Linked DNA regions of Homo sapiens: regions 1, 2 and 3 are each linked to region 4. Evidence: promoter capture Hi-C in 16 types of primary human blood cells and fetal thymus (Javierre and others, 2016). All regions are on one chromosome and are shown on one strand. The core of a region is centred on a gene start or on the middle of the fragment in contact, and the rest is flanking DNA. Distances in the headings are between cores, read along the strand shown.

The links. The method cuts DNA at HindIII sites, captures the fragments that hold promoters and counts their contacts. A CHiCAGO score of 5 or more calls a contact.
Region 1: a fragment that was not itself captured here is called in contact with the fragment with the promoter of TAS2R13 in region 4 in 6 of 17 cell types (erythroblasts, naive CD4 T cells, M1 macrophages and 3 more); the score reaches 6.7 in erythroblasts.
Region 2: a fragment that was not itself captured here is called in contact with the fragment with the promoter of TAS2R13 in region 4 in 1 of 17 cell types (activated CD4 T cells); the score reaches 6.2 in activated CD4 T cells.
Region 3: a fragment that was not itself captured here is called in contact with the fragment with the promoter of TAS2R13 in region 4 in 2 of 17 cell types (activated CD4 T cells and total B cells); the score reaches 6.4 in activated CD4 T cells.

The regions. Positions count from the first base shown.
Region 1 is chr12:11,482,740-11,487,835 of GRCh38, reverse strand. LOC440084 (a long non-coding RNA gene) reads left to right here and starts at 1,158. Exons shown (of 5, transcript NR_148969.1): 1 at 1,158-1,272; 2 at 1,685-1,787. The HindIII fragment of the contact is 4,165 bases long and covers 758-4,922 here.
Region 2 is chr12:11,423,806-11,428,929 of GRCh38, reverse strand. No RefSeq gene overlaps it. Among named protein-coding and RNA genes, the nearest start is that of PRB2, 31 kb to the right of the region's middle. The HindIII fragment of the contact is 1,896 bases long and covers 1,893-3,788 here.
Region 3 is chr12:11,441,926-11,447,118 of GRCh38, reverse strand. All of the region lies in intron 2 of LOC440084 (a long non-coding RNA gene), which reads left to right. Among named protein-coding and RNA genes, the nearest start is that of PRB2, 49 kb to the right of the region's middle. The HindIII fragment of the contact is 2,736 bases long and covers 2,199-4,934 here.
Region 4 is chr12:10,906,279-10,911,343 of GRCh38, reverse strand. It overlaps TAS2R13 (taste 2 receptor member 13), which reads left to right and starts at 1,782. Exons shown (of 1, transcript NM_023920.2): 1 at 1,782-3,418. The coding sequence starts at 2,046. The coding sequence ends at 2,957. All of the region lies in intron 4 of PRH1-PRR4 (PRH1-PRR4 readthrough), which reads left to right. It also overlaps a transcript of PRH1 not described here. The HindIII fragment of the contact is 14,745 bases long and covers 1,594-5,065 here.

The DNA.
Region 1 (5,096 bases), core at 1,591-4,090, 580 kb before region 4:
TGTTAATTTTGGTCTTTGTTACTGTGGCCAGACAGATACCCTAACTAATGCTCATTTTATGAAGTCATAGCAGCTCATTATTCCTTACTCTGCTACCTGGCTACCAAGGCAAGGGCAAATGGCCTAAAGCTGCCAAGCTGGGATCCCACTGGGGTGATTAGGACTAATTCAGGGCAGTGGTGGCAGCGATGACCTATTGCAGCAGAAGCCTGTCAGATTCATGAGACGGCTGCTGTGCGTACTCCAAACTAGCTATGCTCCTGCCCATTTCCTAGTCTGATCTTCCAGCATCTTGATAACTTGGCGCATTTTTGATACATCTCCAATAAATTTCTCTTTTTATTTAAGTGAGCAGAATAGGTTTATATGACTTGTAACAAAAAAGACTCCAAACTGATGTACCAAATTTCGATTTCACTTTCTTCCAATCTATTCTCTATGCTTCTGCTGAAGTGGTGTTTGTAAACTGATTTAATCCTGTATTTTCCCTGCTTAATACTCATCAGTGATTCCCCAGTCATTGCCTCCAGGATAACCTCCTTAGTCAGGCATATGAAGCCTTCCATGATCTGGCCTCCTATGTCTCTCTTGGGACCTGTTGCTACACCTCGTGGTTCAGCCACGCTAAATCACCCAGCTAGCACAATATCTTCACATTGCCTGTATTTCTGCCTGGAATTCCTAACTCCTCCTTCTCATATCTACTTGTCAATTCTTATTCAAGAGACACCTTAGGGTTCCTTACCTCTGTAAAGCTTCCCTAACTGCCCCCACACTGGTCATCCGTAGTAGATAGACAACTCTGTCCTTTGGGCTGTACACTGTATCCTGTCCTTAATCATCTTTCTACCACCTCACCAGGACCTCACCTGCCTTCATGTCCGCCTCCACAATATTGCGCTACATTTCTACTTATAGCACCTGTTTTTTTTTGAATGATTGGTGCTTAGTATAGTAGACCTGTATTAAATAAAAGAAAAACATTTGAAAAGTTTAAAAATAAACCGATAGGTGGCAGCAGAGCCCTGCTGTTAAAAGTAACTTTTGCAGTTCTAAACGTTTTTAACCCTCATGAGCCAGCAGGTGGTGCTGTCTGACACCAAAGCGCCACGTCACAACGGATGCGCAATCACTATTTTATGTGAGTGCAGATTTGTATTAAAACCGGAAAGCATGGACACCCAGACAGCTTACTGTCAATGACTGTACTATTCACTGTCTTCAACAAAAGTCAGCTATTCCAGGAAACTCTCGTCCAGAAAGATAAAAATTGCAAGTAACTGTTTTTTGTTTCAGGAAATTCCCCAGAAAACAACCCTTGAGAAAACCAGACTGTTCAACTTTCCCGCTGATAGCGCTGAACAACCTTTTACTCCTCAGGACTCTTCAAAATCCATGGCATTTACTGATCCTTAATTACCACATCACGATCTTTACCAAATTCTGATCAACCTCATGCCCCCACCTTGAAAGACCCACCTTCAATGTTATAAATATCCCAACTTTGGCACCTGGCTTTGAGACACTACTAAGAATCTAGATAGTGTGAACCCAAAATATCTGAGACAGGTCTCAGTCAACTTAGAAAGTTTTTTTTTTTGCCAAGGTTAAGGACGTGCCTCAGGAGGTCCTGACAGCATGTGTCCAAGGTGGTTGGGGTACAGCTTGCTTTTATAAATTTTAGGAGAATGAGACATCAATCAATATGCGGAAGATTTACATGGTTCGGTCTGGAAGGGTGGGACAATTCGAAGGGTGAGGAGAGAAGAGGAGCTTCCGGGTCATAGGTAGGTTTAAACATATTCTGATTGGGAATTGGTTGAAAGAGTTACGAAAGGAATGTCTGGGTTACCAGGAGGGGTTGTAGAGACCACGGTTTTATCATGAAGATGAAGCCTCCAGGTAGCAGGCTTTAAAGAAAAATAGATTGTAAGTATTTCTTATCAGACTTAAGGTCTGTGTTAATGTTAATGAGGCATGTCCAACCCTCACTTCCCGTCACGGCCTGAGCCAGTCTTTCAGGTTAAATTTTACATGCCCTGGCCAAAGAGTTAGTCCATTCAGATCGTTGCCAGGGGCCTTCAAATTCTATTTTTGGTTTACCGCAGGGGTCTCCTACCCCTGCAATAACTTTACCTAAAGGTATCCTGTTAGGAACCAGGCTGCATAGCGGGAGGTGGGAAGCAGGCAAGTGAGCATTACTGACTGAACTCCGCCTCCTGTCAGATCAGCAGCAGCTTTAGATTCTCATAGCAGTGCGAACCCTATTGTGAACTGTGCATGTGAGGGATCTAGGTTGTGTGCTCCTTATGAGAATCTAATGTCTGATGATCTGAAGTGGAACAGTTTCATCCCCAAACTATCCCCACCTGACCACCCCATCCGGAGAAAAATTGTCCCATGGAAGCTGTCCCTGGTGCCAAAAAAGGTTGGGGACCAGCAGTTCACAGTAGCCATCTCCCTATGGCGGTGAGCAATAAACTCAACTTTGCCTTATGAAAAGGTTCTTTCACTGGTGTTTGAGAGAAGCCGGCATTTGACAATATATGTCAACCTAAACAAACAAAAGTATTTTAGGGCTTTGCTACTCAGAGTGTGGGGTTGGTTTAAAATGCAGGGTCTCAGGCCCCACCTCAGTCCCGTAGAATCAGAATCCGCATTTTCACAAGATGCCCAGGTGACTGTGTGCACATTGCAGGCTGTGGTCTTGGGCATTATTCTTCTAAAGAATGAGTGCAGGCTGGGCGCGGCGGCTCTTGCCTGTAATCCCAGCACTTTGGGAGGCCGAGGTGGGTGAATCACAAGGTCAGGAGTTCGAGACCAGCCTGGTCAACATTTTTAATAGAAACCCCTTTTCTATTAAAAATACAAAAAATTAGCTTGGCGTAGTGGTGAGCGCCTGTAATCCAGCTACTCGGGAGGCTGAGTTACGAGAATCGCTTGAACCTGAGAGGTGGAGGTTGCAGTGAGCCGAGATCACGCCACTGCACTCCAGCCTGGGTGACAGAGCGAGACTCTGTCTAAAAAAAAAAAAAAAAGAATGAGTGCAGATGAAAGTTTAAACTTTAAAGAACAGTGGTTTTGTTCTTTTGTTTTTAGTCGGTTTATCACCAACAGAATAGGAGAAAGATTTGGATTAAAATTTCTGCTTTGTTTAAAAATTCTTCAGTTTTGTGACCTGCCTTAAGAGGATGAGTGGGTTTTTCAGGTATATGGGGAAACATTTATCTGCTGAATTCTTTTAGATCATTAAAAACAAAACAAACACAAACCTGCCGGTTTTTCCTAGGAGGCACCTGTGAGGACGTGGGCTTGTATTTCCTAGATACATTTTAAATCCACAAGCATAGTATATTCAGTAATATCTAGAAAGCTGGTTGATATAAAGGTTTTCTAAATATATATATTTTAAATTTGGATCTGTTATTTATACCACACTTTCTTATGTGTTATATTTGTACCTTTTTTCAGTGGTGAGTCCCATTTGTCTTAATGATTTCTGCTGATATACCAAACAGATGTGATGAAAAGAATAAGTATTTGCCTTCAGAAGGCATGGATTAAAATCCCAGCTCTAGGCTAGGAGTGGTGGCTTATGCCTGTAAGCCCAGTGCTTTGGAAAGCTGAGGTGGGTGAATGGCTTGAGCCCAAGAACATGGTGAAACCTCATCTCTACAAAAAACACAAAAATTAGCTGGGTGTGGTGGTGGGTACCTGTAGTCCCAGCTACACAGAAAGCTGAGCGGGGAGGGTCGCATGAGTTGCAGTGAGCCAAGATCACACCACTGTATTCCAGCCTGGGTGACAGAGCAAGGCCGTGTCTAGCAACAGGCAACAACAACAACAGGGAAAATCCCAGCTCTGCTTCTGTCCGGCTATGTAACGTGGGCCTATCCCCTTAACCTCTCTGAGCCTCAGTTTTCTCATCCTAAGTGGGGAAAATATTATCTATATAAAAGAACTGATTGGGGGATTAAAAGAGAGTCTGTAATAAAACATCTGTAAACCACATTTGTTTTGTAGTCATTTCTCCTAAACCCTCATGCTGCCATAGCACGTATTACCAAGCAGCACAACGGAGGATATTAATGAATGAAATAATGCATCACCTATTAAGTCACTTTAATAGGAATAGAAGGGAGAGGCAAGAGTTTCTAGAGACGATGACTTACCACTCCCAAATACTGTTTCTTATGGCGGTAAATGACAGCTTTGGAGGTATGGTAGGTATGTGGTTTGGGTCTGGGTTATCTTATATCACACCCCACATTAGCTACCTACCTAACTCTGCATCAGACAGGTTACATGTATTTCATCTAAAGTAGTAACTCAGAAAGTGCACTTATCTTCTGTTGAATTTCCTTTCATGTCAGCCTCTCTAAAAAACCACCTGACCCACTGCTTTTTGCTATTGCTGCTTAAAGAGCTTGTTTCCCCCACCATGATTAGCTTTGTGCCTACACTAAGGCACTCCTACAGATTCTTCAACCTCTTCTCATGTGATGCAGAAAGTACAAAGGAGAGCCCTGGCCGAACTGTCCAGTTTAGTAAAACACCCAGAGGAGTAACTATGTTTATTTAGGGTGTTTCAGAGCTTGCTGCTCTGCCTAGTCTATTGTAAGAGCTCTGAAATTATTAGAGCTTTTCCTAAAAATATCCACACTTGGATGTGACTCAGTCATAGAAAAACAACTGACCCAAGAAACAGAGAGTCTGAGTTTTGGTTCTTGGTTTGTTTTGTTCTTATTGTGTTTTCATTTTGTTGCATGAAACATGAAACCTCCGGTCTTGGGATAGATTTGAGTCCTGACTCAGCCAGTGATAAGTTGTTTGACCTTGGGTGAGTTACTAAACTTCTCTGGGGCTAAATTTCTTCATCTAAGAAGTGGATTAGATACAGCAACATATTATAGTTCGAAGCTTCTGGCTGGACGTTGTGGCTCACGACTGTAATCCCAGCATTTTGGGAGGCTGAGGTGGGAGGATCTCTTGAACCCAGAAGTTCAAGACTAGCCTGGGCAACATGGCAAAACCCTGTCTCTACTAAATATACAAAAATTAGTCAGGCATGATGGAGCATGCCTGTAATCCCAGCT
Region 2 (5,124 bases), core at 1,591-4,090, 520 kb before region 4:
TTTCAGAAGATTTCAGCATGGAGTTTTGTAATGGACCCTTAGGACAACTTACACATGTACCCAGGGAAGAAGGCTAGTGGACTCATCATAGGCACTCATTGGTATCTACTCAGGATAAAAAGATGTTTTATTTCAAGTTCTAACAGATCAATTAAAAGCAGCTGCCCAGGGAATAATGATTTGGGTGCCTAACCAGGAGAGTTGTGGCACTTGTGCCATGCAAGTAGCTGACCCTGGTATAAGTGATAGTTGAAACCATGGGCTTAGATGAGGCCACTTAGGAATAGTGCAGGTATAAGGAGGGGCAAAACTCTGAGGCACTGGTGTGGGAAGTTGACACCTGGAGCAAGCAAGTGACAAGGAGTCCCACCCAGTGGCTGTCCTCACAATAGTAGCTCTCATTGAAGGCTACTCTGTGCCAGGCAGGGACAGAGCTGAGAGCTTTGCATGGGTTTTTATGATATGCAAATGTTTTACACAGTATTTGTATAAAATATTAATAATATTTAATATAAAATTTGTATAGTTTATATACCAATATAAATTATTGAGTAAATTTTGATAATGGTACAGGCTAGTCTGTTTCTGTAATCCCAAAACCTCTTAATTTTCAAGCATTTAGTTTACATCACTTACATTTAACATAATTATTAATATATTGAGTAATAAGTCTGTCATTTTACTCTAGGTTTTGTGCTTATCTTGTGTTTTTTCTCTGTTTTCTATGTGCTACCTTCCTGTGTGTTACTTGAATATTTTGTTTTGAATTCCATTTTGGCTTATATGTAGTATTTTTGAGTGCGTTTGTACAGTTATTTATTTTTTTACTGATACTGTAGGTTTCACATTACATATATATATGACATCTTTTATATAAGTTATGTATCTTATAACCATCATTTTAGCTTAAAGTCTAAGGCAGTGCTATCTAATATAAATTTCTGTGATGATACATGTGTTGTATATCTACTATTCCACAGATATGGCTGCTTTTAAATGTAAAATTTTATATTTTATTTATATTTTATATTTTTAACATTTTTAATTTTAATTAATTAAATGTAAGCAGCTACATGTGACTTGCAGCTACCATATCGGACAGTAGAGATAGAGACAAGTGGATGGAGATGAGACATATTTAGAAAATTAGAACAGGAGAGAGAAACTGGTGGTAGACTTTTTATGTGGAATGAGACACAGTCAAAGCTATAGATTTTATGTTGCATGAATGGTTGGACAATGTTCACTAGAGTTGGGATTACCAGATCTAGTTTTGTTTTGGAAATACTGAGTGGCAACTTTAAAATATTCAAATGGGGATGTCAAATAGATAAAGGCGTGAAGCTCAGAGTAGGAGTCTTGGCAAGAGATTTAACTTTGTGCCTTTGGTACATAGATAATAATTAAAGCTGTTGGCAAGGATGACTTTTTCTAGGGAGATGATATTATATATAGTGACAAGAGGCAAGAGACAAAAAATAGAGGAATTTCATAATTTCACAGCTAGATGGAAACAGATGCATCTGCAAAGGACACACAAGGTGTCAGCTCCTGAATGGTGGGGACCATGATTTTGTATTCATCATTGCATTCTAAACTCCTAGCAAAATTCCTGGCATACAGAAGGCACTCAATATATATTTGATAAATGAAAGAAGTAATGAGTGGAGCAACCAGAGAGTTCAACGTAAAACAAATGCATATAAGTATCATGGAATCAAAGGAAGAGAATATTTTAAGTAAGACAGATTACAAACGATGCCCATCACTGCTGAGAAAGTTAAGATGAAGACTGAAAAAGTCCATTGATTTTAGCAAGCTGGAGGTCACTGGTACCGTGATGTCAGCTGTTTAAGTGGAATGATGGAAACAGAAGACTTGTTTTATAAGCTTCTGTCAGACTTTTTGTTAGATTCCTTAGCATATTGGCAAATTGCTTTCCTAAATTATAACTGAGGGTGACATAGTTTCAGTAGTAAAGGCATTTCTTAACTCTTTCTTCTCAAAGACCATCCCCACACAATAATATCAGGAAACAAGAAAGCAAATTTCATCTTTGATAAATCTTATAGGGCAAATATAAGCAACAATATATGAAGACTAAGTACAGGCAGAGCCATAGTTCCTGGCATAGTGGAAAGGAAGAGGGTTGTATTCAAGCACCTGTGAAGTTCTTGTTATTGGAAAGTGGCACCAAATAAATGTATGTTAATTGGTCTCATAGCACCCTTGTAAGACTGCAGGGCTGCGGACAGCAGGACCTCTGAGGATTATGTTGTAGGAGGGAAGGTGATGGTGAGACAGGTGGCAGGAAACTGTTGGGGTTCACATCCCCCTTTGTTCCAGCAAGAGGGAGTAGGTTTATTTAGAAAAACTGAACCAGAGAGGCAATGGACTTGGGGACAACTTGGCGTTACTAAAGAGGGCATGAGTGAAATTCTACTCTGAAAACAAGCCAATCAAGTGAAAGCCCGTTAAATAAATGGAGGATATCCAACCTCATATCCTGGCCAGCTTCAAGGTCCTGGCAGTGAGGATGATGTTTGCAGGTTAGGAGACAGGAGGATTCTTCGAAAGGATCAGCACTTTCTCAGAGAAAGCAGCTGTAGGTCTACACAAAATACCAGGGCATCCAGCCTCCCTCCTGTGAGGACCTGATTCTACATAATTCTTGCAATGCACATAGAGTTTTCTGATAATCTTAGCGTCTAACTCTAATGTATGAATAGAAAAAAAGTTCATCAGCTATTTGAAGAAAATCTCCATCAAATAAGACTCAAAGAAACAGAAAAAGAGGAATTGGAAGGAGACAGAAACAAGATAAAAAGCAGGATAAACCTTTCAGAAATGGTAATATGTTTCAAGAAATAAGAATAGACACTACATCTTTTTTGTTTGTTTGAGGCAGAGTCTCGCTCTGTCACCTGGCTGGAGTGCAGTGGCACAATCTCAGCTCACTGTAACCTCCGCCTCCTGGGTTCAAGCGATTCTCTTCCCTCAGCCTCCCGAGTAGCTAGGACTACAGGCATGCGCCACCATGCCCAGCCAATTTTTGTATTTTTAGTAGAGACGGGGTTTCATCATGTTGGCCAGGATGGTCTCGATCTCTTAACCTCGTGATCCACCCCGCCTCGGCCTCCCAAAGAGCTGGGATTACAGGCGTGAGCCACTGCGCCCAGCCGACACTGCATTTTTGAAACAAGAATAGGATGTTATTAAATAAAGGAATGACTGGAAAACAAAAAGAAATATTGGCAATTATAAATTCAGTTGATGATAAGCGCAGTAGAAGATAAAGTTAAGGAACTCTCCCATAAGATAGAATGAAAAGAGATGATCCATGGGTGAGAAAAAAAAATTCAACCAACATTAGACAAAGAAAACAGAGACTATATGGGAAAGAAATAGTCAATGAAACACTAGATTTCCCAGAACTTAAGGTGTATTCTCCATATTGAAAGGGCCCAATGTTGATCCGCAGGCCCACACTTAACCATTTGCAGTGCCCAGTGCAGGAATACAAATGGAGCCCCACCTACTTTATAGCCCCTACTCTATAAGTTATAAAGTGTCTAGACCCTAGATTCATGTCAGGTTCCACATAAGTCCTGCAGTCTGTCTCTTGGAAACTGCCTTTCTCAACTAGCCAGGAGGCTAAAGGAACATGTGTTTCCCTGCATTAACCCTGACTGCAAGCTGGGAGGTGGGAGGATGGAGAGGGGTAGGGCTGTCTGCTGGAGCAGCAGGGTGGAAGCTGGGTGGGGGCCAAGCATTGACCTGGCCAAGCTTTTGTGGGAGCCTGCTAGGCAAGCGATGCTCTCTGCCCTGCCTCACTTCTGATTTGGGTTTCCCAGGAGGTTCTAAGCAGCTCCCCAAATGATATTACTGACCACAGGAGTAGTAGAGAGTGCATTTATGGAGGGAGAGTGGGTGAACCTGTCTGCCCAGATGTGCTCTTTGGTCTTTTTAAGCTGAAAAACATTAAGCAAAAGCATTCATTTTTTTCTCTGGTGTCCCAGAGCAGAAGCTGTGAATTTATTCTCATTGTACCTTCTCAATTCTGCATCCTCAGGACTTGAGGACCACAGTTCTGCCTGTGCCCCTCTCCCACAATTCCTGTTTTTTATTTATTTGCTGGACTTTTAAAATATTTTCCAAGGAGAGTGAAAGGAATTAAACCATGCGTTTGGTTTTGGGGTGTGTGGAGACCAATCTAAAATGTAGGGCCCAGCACAGCCCCTGCAACACCCGGAATAGAATACTGAGTGCCCAGCACAATAAATGGAAAGAGATCCATATCAACTTAAATCTAATTAAATTTTAGGGATAAAAGGATGATCCTCAAGATTCCAGTGGAGGAAAAAAACAGTTTTACACTAAGGATTGAGAATTAGAGTGAAAATGGAAGGGTAAAAGTTAGAAGATGGTGTCAGAAAGATTCTGAGCAAAAGTCATTTTCAACCTAGTGTCCTATATTTGGCCAGATTATCAGTCAAGTGTGAGGCCAGACTAAGCACATTCTTAGACATGAATGATCTTGAAATGTTTCCCCTCTCATGTGGCTCATTTGCAACAAGCTATGGAAGAATGGGTTTCACCAAAGAAGAAGGCTGAGAAAGAGGGAGGCATTAACTCAGGATATGCATCACCCTATTTGAGAGAAGAAAATAAAATTTCCAGGACAAAGGCAAATTATCTGAGAAGTGTCAGTGAGGAAAATTGTATGAAGAGGGATTTTACAAGTCCGTTGGAAGTGTCAGGAAGACTTAGATGTTTAAAGAAAACCAAATAAGTGAGAAAAAGGAGGTAATTATTAACTCCAGGAAAAACAAAAGGTTTTGTAAGGAAGGAAATATAAGCGTAATTAATAGGTACAGGGTAGTGATGATATTGGTGAACAAAAGGCAAATAATATTTCCTCATTCTAAAAATGAAATCACAACCAAAAAGTCATCAGTACTTGAAACTGACACCTCACTTCCTAGCAGGGCCTACTAGAAGGAAGCCAATGCATCCCTATCATTCACCCCACTGTGTCCACATTAGACACAATTTGGGCAGAGTGAAATTGTTATAGAGATCAAGTGGGGACTGAGAGATTGAGGGTGGGAAACTTTTCCTTCT
Region 3 (5,193 bases), core at 2,317-4,816, 530 kb before region 4:
TCTTTCTTTCTTTCTTTCTTTCTTTCTTTCTTTCTTTCTTTCTTTCTTTTTCTTTCTTCCTTCCTTCCTTCCTTCCTTCCTCTCTCTCTCTCTGTCTCTTTCTTTCTTTCTTTCTTTCTTTCTTTCTTTCTTTCTTTCTTTCTTTCTTTCTTTCTTTCTTCTTTCCTTCTTTCTCTCTTTCTTCCTTTCTTTCATCTCGCTCTGTCACCCAGACTGGAGGGCAATTGAAGCCATCTTGGCTCACTGCAACCTCCGTCTCCCAGGTTCAAGCGATTTTCATGCTTCAGCCTCCCAAATGGCTGGGATTACAGGCATGCGCCACCACGCCTGGCGAATTTTTGTATTTTTAGTAGAGACGGGGTTTCACCATGTTTGCCAGGCTGGTCTCAAACTCCCAATCTGAAGTGATCCACCCGCCTCGGCCTCCCAAAATGTTTTTTTTTTCTTTTTCTTTTTTTTTTTTTTTGAGACAGATTGGAATGCAGCTAGTCACAGTTGTGGTCAAATCTCACCACAGCCTTGAACATCTGGTCTTGAGTGATCCTCCTGTTTGTCTTCGAAGTAGCTGGGACTATAAGGGCCCACAGAATGCCCAGCAATTTGGTGATTTCATATAGCCCCTGTGTACACTGGGGTTTGATCACTGCAGGTCTCTGGTGGCCCTAGGGGGTTGGAGGACATATAGAAGGTTTTCTTTGTCCTTGATGTTGAGTAACTGCTCATATAAGGCCCCTGTTGAGGCACCTTAATCAAAATCATAAAGCCCTGGGGGGCAAAACAAAACAAAACAAAAAACCCCCACAAGGCCTGCCAGGAACTCCCATGATTAGGCATTTGGTGGATTCTTGCTGTTGTTCTTAAAAAATGTTTTTATGTAAATGTCAAATACTTGTGCCTTAAGCAAGAGAACTTGCAAGCTTACATGCTTCCAGTAGGACTTCCTAGTAAAAACAGAAAAGGAAAGTGAACAAGGCCTTTGCTGTTATGGGCTGCTTTTCATGGAAGCAAAGATTGGAAGAAGTTGAGATTGTATTGATTTTAATTACTTGGAAACAAATTGGAATTTTCTTTGCTTTTTTCCTTTTCCAACTGTCAGTATAAAATAAATTAGGAAAATGTGCTTGTATTTCCTCATAAGTGATGGGGGAGAAAAGTGAGACATTTTGGGTTTCCAACAGAAAAAATGAGGAATTAGATACCTTCTAGTATTTCCAGAGAAACCTTATTGACAGCAAATCCTGTGATGATAGAGGCTCCCCAGAAGTTATTGTCCATGAAGTCTGCTATGCTGTGCTAAAAATTATGAGAGTGTTGTTTTGGAGTCAATTTCCGCACTGGGCCCCTACAGTCCAGACTAAAAATCAAAATGGTGTCCCTTACATTGAAGTTCCATGGCATCCAGTCAAATGGAAACTGAGTTCCTTTCTGACCTGAGAAATCAGGAGAGAGGGATTACAGTCTAATTTCCCAAACAGGCCAGTTTCAACTGGCAGGGTAATAAAGTGTTCTCTGTTTTAATCCTTACCAAAAAGAAAAAGGAAAAAGCAACCTGATATTATACAATCAGTTATTTCTCTATTGTTCTATTTCTTGGTTCCTTCATTAAAAGGAAAACAACTTTGAAATCACCAATCGCTTTTTTTTCTTTCTTTCTGCTTTATTTAGCCATTTTCTGTCTATAAAACCACACTCCTCTGCTTGGCTTATTAGAACACTTATTCTATTTTGTGGAATAAAGTGTTGTCTGATTCTAGAATTGCAAATAAGCCAATTAATATCTTTAAATTGTTAGAATTTTATCTTTTGCCTGTTGAGATGTAGAAAGAATTCTGAAGGCCTTCGTTCTATCTCTTGATGTGCTAACCTTGGGCAAGTCACTTACTACTTTGGGTTTCCATTTTATTTAACATTCAATATTTAACTACCTACTTATGGAGGTGGCAATGTCTTGGGAGATTATTTATAGAATGATATTGATATGCATTCTGTCTATCTCTCAGAAATGGCATAAGAATAAATTTGGATTTGAAAGCCCCGTGAAACATTCATAAATCTCCTGCATCTCAGAACAAAAGGCCACAAATCAAAGAGGGAAGTTCTTGCCTCATTTAAGACTGGACTTATAATAACAAAGCCTTTCATTCAATTAATGGCAAAGTGAAGAAAGATCAGACTGGAGATTTTCATCATAGCAAGCTTGACTTGGTGCAAAGAAATGCAAGAGGTCAAACCTGTGGGTTGATTCAACTAAAGAAAAATCTCTTTCTTGGATTCCTATAGCCTTGCCATAATCTAAAATGTCTCCTTACTGATAGAGGCTTTAGACATCGTTTCCCTCCTCTCCTTCCTTCTTTATGAAGCAACTAATGGAAGCTATGCTAGGTTCTGGGATTAATCTATGCAGATTAGTTTGCGCTACTCAGGATATACTAACAGTGTAGCTCACTAACACTATACTAACACTATACTAACAGTGTCTTGGACAGGATAGAGGTTTATTTCTCTTATTTGTTATGATGGCTTTGTTCTGTGAATCCTTTCGTTATATATTCTCTGCCATCCCTATGGTGTTGCCCTTATGCAAATGGTTCAAGGTGACACACTACCACACCCACATCTCATAAGGCAGAAAAGGAGGAAAGTGGAAGTGAAGGGTATGCCTCTTCCCTCTAGGGACAAAACTTAGAGGTTACACATATTAGTTCTGCTCATATTGCCTGGAGGCTGGGAAATGCATCTTCATATTGGGGAACCATATGCCCAGCTAAACATTAGGGATTCTGTTACTCTGAGAGAGAAGAGGGAATGGGACAACCAAAAACCTGGGATGCTAACAAGAACGACTCTTGGTTCCTTCCTAAAAATTGCTTACTTTAGTGAGAGAAAACAGAAGTCTAAATAGGTAATGAAACATATATTAAATATATATGTGTTTAGAGATGGGGTCTCACTATGTTGCTCAGGCTGGACTTGAACTCCTGGGCTCTAGTTATCCTCCTGTCGTGGCCTCCCAAGTAGCTGGGATTATAGGCGGGTGCCAAGGAGCCTGGCTTGACTTTCTTCTTTCTCTAACTTGTTTCCTTTGCTGACTTTTCCTCTATACCCATAAGAATTTCACTAGACTGGAATTTTGTCTGGTTCAGGTAAGGCCTGCACCTCCTGTCTTTCTACATTTCCCTTGGAATCACGTGCACCATTTTGGTGACAGCAGTTTTAAGCAAATGGCTCATACATCTCTATGCATAAAGCAAAACCATGATTGTTAATCAAAATTCCCTGGATCTCAGTTTCATCTTCTTTTTTTTTTGCCACCTGTGGGGTATTTCCAACAAGGTTCTCTTAAGGTAACTTAATTGCCAGTAGCCAAACTCATCTTGCCTACCCCTTCTGCAAATCTCCTCACCAACATCCTGTTCCTCACAATACCACTCAGAAACTGACTCCTGCTTTGCTTCACTGCAATACATCACTGGAATAATTCAGGCTTCACAAGGTGGAGTTATCTTTTCTTTTCCCTGGACCCTGACTCTCCGTATCATACATTAAATATAAATTGCTGATCATAGTGCTTGCTTTCATTACTGTAATCTTGCTACTCAGTGCCTTGCCTGTGCTATTGTGATGCCCCTCTTCTCTGCTTTAAATTCTTGTTCACTATCTGTCTTCCTACAATATAATTTGATTTGGCTCAATCTGCTAAAAAATCTTCACCAATAGGCTATTATGTATCAATGAGGCAATTCTCTTCGGCCTTCTATTTCCAAGTCGGCTTTTCATAATATGGCCTCAACTTTCCATCATCTCTGCAATATCCTCTTAAGACATATTAGACTAATTGCCATTCCTGGATGTGTTCTCCACTCTCCTATGTCTACCTCTATGTGTATTTACATGACTGTTCCTTCTTCCTGATAACCCTGCCTGTTTTACCCTGATGAAATCTTACCCATTTTTAAGGGCCAATTGAAATACCACATTCTTTATGAAAGTTCCCCTGAACTTCTGTAAGCCAGCAATACATTTGGCGTTAGAGGCAGTAACTAACTTGTCTTCGTGTTGCTAGTGTCTGGCAACCCCTGGGGGTAACCAGCAAGTCTGCTCAAATGTTAGAGCTGATGCTAACATTTGATTTCCTCACAGATTATGTTGTCTAACCTTTCCACTCCCCCCAAATAGATTGTGTGATTCTTGGAGGCAGGGTCCATTCAACTCTGTATCCTCAGTACGTTTTGTCTCACTTAATATTCGCTCAATTAAATATTGGTTTAACAGAATTGTTTCGGTGATGGTAATGGCAGTGATTTTCTTGGAATGAGTAGGGGACAAGCCACTTAGGGGGACTGTAACACTACTCAGAAGAGCCACCATTTCAGACTCTTCCTAAGAAACCAATGATACGTTCTTAAGAAAGAGTCTCTTACTACACTAGTTTTAAGAGAGGGTAGAAGACAATACTGCTTGGAGGAAATTCTAGTGATCGAGAGAGAAAATAGATTTTGTATACAAAAGATTTTGTGATGTTTTTGTGTAGGATTGTCCTGGGGGGTTATCAGATCTAATAATGAGCTCTTCCCTAGCTTCCTTTTTCCATCCTTAAACCTGCATTCAGCTTCACCAAGGTGAGTGTTGGAGTGGTTAAAGAAGAGGCTCATTTGTAAGGAAAATAGTGGTGGATAAAATTCCATAGTGCATTTCTATTAAACCTTTTGGAGAGGTCAGCAAAAGATACATAAACTCTTTTCTGACATTTCCTTATGTGACTCAAAATGCGATAAGAAAAACTGAAGTTTCTTTGATTCACCATCTTCTACCTCTCACCATGGTCCCTATCCCAATTCAGTGATAAGGAAGAAGCAGTTGTTTAGAAATGGGTCATTAGGAGAATGGATGAAACTCCTGGTTCAAATCTTACTTTGATGCAATTCTGTTAAGCTTCAATGTCTGTTTTTAAAACATGTGAGTTAATTTGGTTCAATGATTATGGCCAAGGCATCTGGTTGGATAACATAATGTCATGAAGTTGTATGGCTTTGGCCCCTGCCCTTAAAACTTTTAGTATATTTGAGGCAGAGACATAAGAAAGGGATTAATTCCAAACTAGCAGAGTCATTATTCTTAACACCAGAAGATGGGTAGAGATAAGCCTGAATAGAGAAAAAAAATGGGGCTCTACTCCAAGCCATGCTGCCTGTA
Region 4 (5,065 bases), core at 533-3,032:
ACCGCAAGCCTGTTATCCATTCTCTATGTCTTTGTCATGTGTTATATCACAAGTTCTAAAAACTGTGGTATTTTTTCATATACCAGCAAGTACAGTACCATTCCTCAGGCCTATTTGTACAGATTTGGGGTATTATCAAGTTGTGACCGGCATCCCCAAACCCTTTTCTCTAGATAGGTAGGAAGAACACCCTAAAATGAAAAAGTATAAAAGATCTCTTCAGCCCTGGGTCAAGAATGCAAATGGAAGACCACATGCCACATAGCTACATATTTAAAGGTCATAAATATACAAACCTAACAAACTGTTAAAGGAGACATTTTCTATTCTATCTTGACAAATATACCATTATAACAACAAAATAGAAAATATCTACCTATTTTAAGTTATAATTGAAACTTGCAAATCATTAAAGATGATGCAATTATTTTGTAAATTTTTTAGTACTCTGTAGATCACCCAATAAAGATTGCATGAGTAATAAAATACAAACATTCATAATTCACAAATTATATCTTTATTAAATAAAAATAGCTTTGTATTCATCTAGCTAAATGGCTACTTATTATCTTATAATCAAGATAAAGTGTTTTATTTATATTAATTTTGAATTAGACAATCTTTCTTGAGTCTCCACGTTTTCAGAATTTTGGTAATCCACTTTTTTTCGGTAGTTTTTGAAAGAGTGGGGCGGGGTGAGGAACCTTGACTCTTCACAATGAACACATTAGTCCCCGCTTATCTGCAGTTTCAGTGACCCAAGGTCAACCACAGTCCAAAAATAGGTGTGTACAGTACAGTAAGGTATCTTGAGAGAGTGAGAGACACCACACTATATATTTTAACACATTTTTTTACTTTTTATTTTTTTAATTTTTATTTATTTTAGATACAGGGTCTCCCTATGTTGCCCAGGCCGGTCTCAAACTTTTGGGCTCGAGCGGTCCTCCCGCCTCAATCTCCCAAATTGCTAGGATTACAGGGATGAGCCACAACCCCTGGCAACTTTTATTATAGTATATTGTTTTAATTGTTCTATTTTATTATTAGTTATTTTTGTAATCTTTTACTGTGCTTGATTTACAAATTAAACTTTATCATAGGTAGGTGAATACAGGAAAAAAATATATTGTATATAGAGTTTGGTACTATCTGCTGTTTTAGGCATCCACTGGGGGTCTTGGGACATAGGCCTCATGGATAAGGGGAACTAGTGTATCTATTTCTTTGCTTGGTTTTCAGTTTTGCAAGTTATGATGTAATATAGTACTGCTTTCTTTGGTAGCTGTTGCTGATTTTGTAAAATTTGTTTTTTTATCACTTTTAAGTTTAAAAAAGAAATATGAGGGGAAAAGCGGATAAAATGTGAAGGCATTTGGTGCCTATGGAGGGATGGTGGTGAGCACTGCTAAGTAGTGATGAGGCAGGGAATGAGAAAGATGGATGCTTTGTAAACGAGTTTCTCTTTAGTCACAGTATTGACCAGATCCAGCTTTAGCTCCACAAGAAATTGAGCACTCTTTTGAAATAGCATAGGTAAGTCTTTGCATATTTTATAAAGCTTCATTGGCTATGCTATTAGCCATAAAAGCTTCATTTAGCTACATATTCTATGAATCAGATTTTTATAATATTTGTACCTCAGAACTCAAGCTGGTTGAATCTAATTTTCTATGCTCAGACAAGGCAAAAAAGTACAAAACAATGAAAGAGAATATATCTTTATTTGCATGGTTGCAAATGTGAGTTTAACTTTGCTGCATAATCATCTATGAAATATTTCTGCCCATGGTGAAGACATAAATATCTTAGCTAGGGCTCAGCAGAGAAATTGAAGAAAAATAAAGATATCACCAGAACAGTTATGTGAAGATCGATCAGCAAACTTTAGAGATTTCTGCTTTGACGTTGAGCCAACAATGAAAGAAGGAGCAGAAAAAGGAGAAGGAAGAAGAACTCCACTGGACACTCAAGGATGTGAATAGCATTTTAGATCAGTGAATAACCAGCAGTGACATTAGACATTGAACTTTCTCTGTTCTGACATGGAAAGTGCCCTGCCGAGTATCTTCACTCTTGTAATAATTGCAGAATTCATAATTGGGAATTTGAGCAATGGATTTATAGTACTGATCAACTGCATTGACTGGGTCAGTAAAAGAGAGCTGTCCTCAGTCGATAAACTCCTCATTATCTTGGCAATCTCCAGAATTGGGCTGATCTGGGAAATATTAGTAAGTTGGTTTTTAGCTCTGCATTATCTAGCCATATTTGTGTCTGGAACAGGATTAAGAATTATGATTTTTAGCTGGATAGTTTCTAATCACTTCAATCTCTGGCTTGCTACAATCTTCAGCATCTTTTATTTGCTCAAAATAGCGAGTTTCTCTAGCCCTGCTTTTCTCTATTTGAAGTGGAGAGTAAACAAAGTGATTCTGATGATACTGCTAGGAACCTTGGTCTTCTTATTTTTAAATCTGATACAAATAAACATGCATATAAAAGACTGGCTGGACCGATATGAAAGAAACACAACTTGGAATTTCAGTATGAGTGACTTTGAAACATTTTCAGTGTCGGTCAAATTCACTATGACTATGTTCAGTCTAACACCATTTACTGTGGCCTTCATCTCTTTTCTCCTGTTAATTTTCTCCCTGCAGAAACATCTCCAGAAAATGCAACTCAATTACAAAGGACACAGAGACCCCAGGACCAAGGTCCATACAAATGCCTTGAAAATTGTGATCTCATTCCTTTTATTCTATGCTAGTTTCTTTCTATGTGTTCTCATATCATGGATTTCTGAGCTGTATCAGAACACAGTGATCTACATGCTTTGTGAGACGATTGGAGTCTTCTCTCCTTCAAGCCACTCCTTTCTTCTGATTCTAGGAAACGCTAAGTTAAGACAGGCCTTTCTTTTGGTGGCAGCTAAGGTATGGGCTAAACGATGAGAAACTCACAATTTCATAAGCCATTCAGACCACAGATTATTGAATATTGCAGACAGAAACAGGAGTCTACAAGGAGTTTAAAAGATATTTTATGCTTCCCCTGGTTTCTTTTATTGTGAAGGTCACTGTAAATGTTTTAAATTCTTCTCTATAATAGCATCTTACCTAAGAATATTATGTATTTATGACATGTATTTCTACATTATTAGGAATTTGAAACTTATTTGAGGAAATTATTGGCAGATTCTATTGTAAATTAAAAACATATACTACAGCATACTTAGATGTTAATTGTAAATCTACAATCTTTTGTTTGGCAATGGCTCTTCAATTCTAAATCATTCATTGAGATGGGTGATTTAGGTAATTATTTTATTATCTCAAGTACTCCTATTTAAATGGTGAGCTACAGATAATTAGAACAGTTATTTGGAATAGAATTAGGGAAGTTTGGACTTGCCACTATTACTATACTGATGTGTTGAGAGAATTGAGAGGGTTAAAAAGTTTAATATGAGTAACTGCCACATAAAAAGATAACGGTTTTTTAGTAATTATATTGTATGTATGTGTACATACATATTTTACATTATGCCTTTTAAAGTAAATATTATTGAGGTATAATTTACATATAATAAAATGCAACATGTTAGTCCACATTTCAGTTAGAGTTTTGACAATGTATACACTTGTGTGACCACAATGTCAGTGCCCTTTGCAGTTTACCCTCTCCCCTCCAGCCCTTTTTCCCAAGCAACTACTTATCTGCTTTTGGTAACAATAAGAGAGTTTTTGATTTCTAGAATTTTATGCATCTATATATCTATAGATATAGATATATAGATGCCATATATACACACACACACACACACATACAGTTATAGAGTGTGTATTGTTATATGTGAGGCTTCTTTAACTCAGCATAATGTTTTTGAAGTTCTTCTGTTTTGTTGTATTAATCAGTAGTTTGTTCCTGAGCAGTGTTCCTGAGTAGTGTTGGATATACCACATTAAAAAATTTCTCTTTCCTGTTAATGAACATTCAAATGGTTTTCAATTATTGGCCATTATAAATAAAACTGATATCAACATTCATGTATTTCTCTTCTTCTGGATATACAATTTCCTCACTCTTGAGTAAATACCTATGAGTAAAAATGTCAAATCATATGATAAGTGTATGTTTAACTTAAGAAAAAACTGCCAGAGTTCTATAGAGTGGTTGCACCATTTCATACTATTGCCAGCAATATACGAGTGTTTCAGTTATTTCACATTCTGGCCAACAGTTGGTAGGTACTCTGTTTTGTTTTCTATTTTGGCCATTCTAGTCAGAATGTAATGGCATCTCATCATAGTTTTAATTCACATTTTCCTAATGGCTAGTGAGGCTGATGATTTTTTCATATGCTTTGGGTCATTCATACAACCTCTTTTTATGAAATGTTTGTTTAAACCTTTTGCCAACTACTTAGCTTGATTCATTGCTTTCTGTTTTTATTACTGAGTTGTAAATGTTCTTTATATAGTCTCTGTATTAGTCCATTTTCATGCTGCTGATAAAGACATACTCAAGACTGGGTAACTTATAAAGAAAAAGAGGTTTAATTGACTGACAGTTCCACATGGCTGGAAAGGCCTCACAATAATGGCAGAGACAAAAGTCACGTCTTACATGGTGGCAGTGAAGAGAGAATGACAGCCAAGCGAAAGGGGAAACCCCTTATAAAAACATCAAGTTTCATGAGACTTATTCACTACCATGAGAACAGTATGGGGGAAACCACCCCCATCATTCAATTATCTCCCACTGAGTCCCTCCCATAACACATGGGAATTATGGGAGCTACAATTCAAGATGAGATTTGGGTGGGGACACAGCCAGACCATATCATTCTGAATATAAGTTCTTTATCAGACATATGTTTTATAAATATTTTCTGCCAGCCAGAGGCTTGTCATTTCATTTTCTTTACAGTGTCTTTCAAAGAGAGGACATTAAAAACTTTTAATGAAGTTCAATAATCAACTATTTTCCTGTAAGAAAATTATTTTTAACTTTTTTTGCTTTCAAAACTCAAAGATATTTTATGGAACAGTTGGAATAA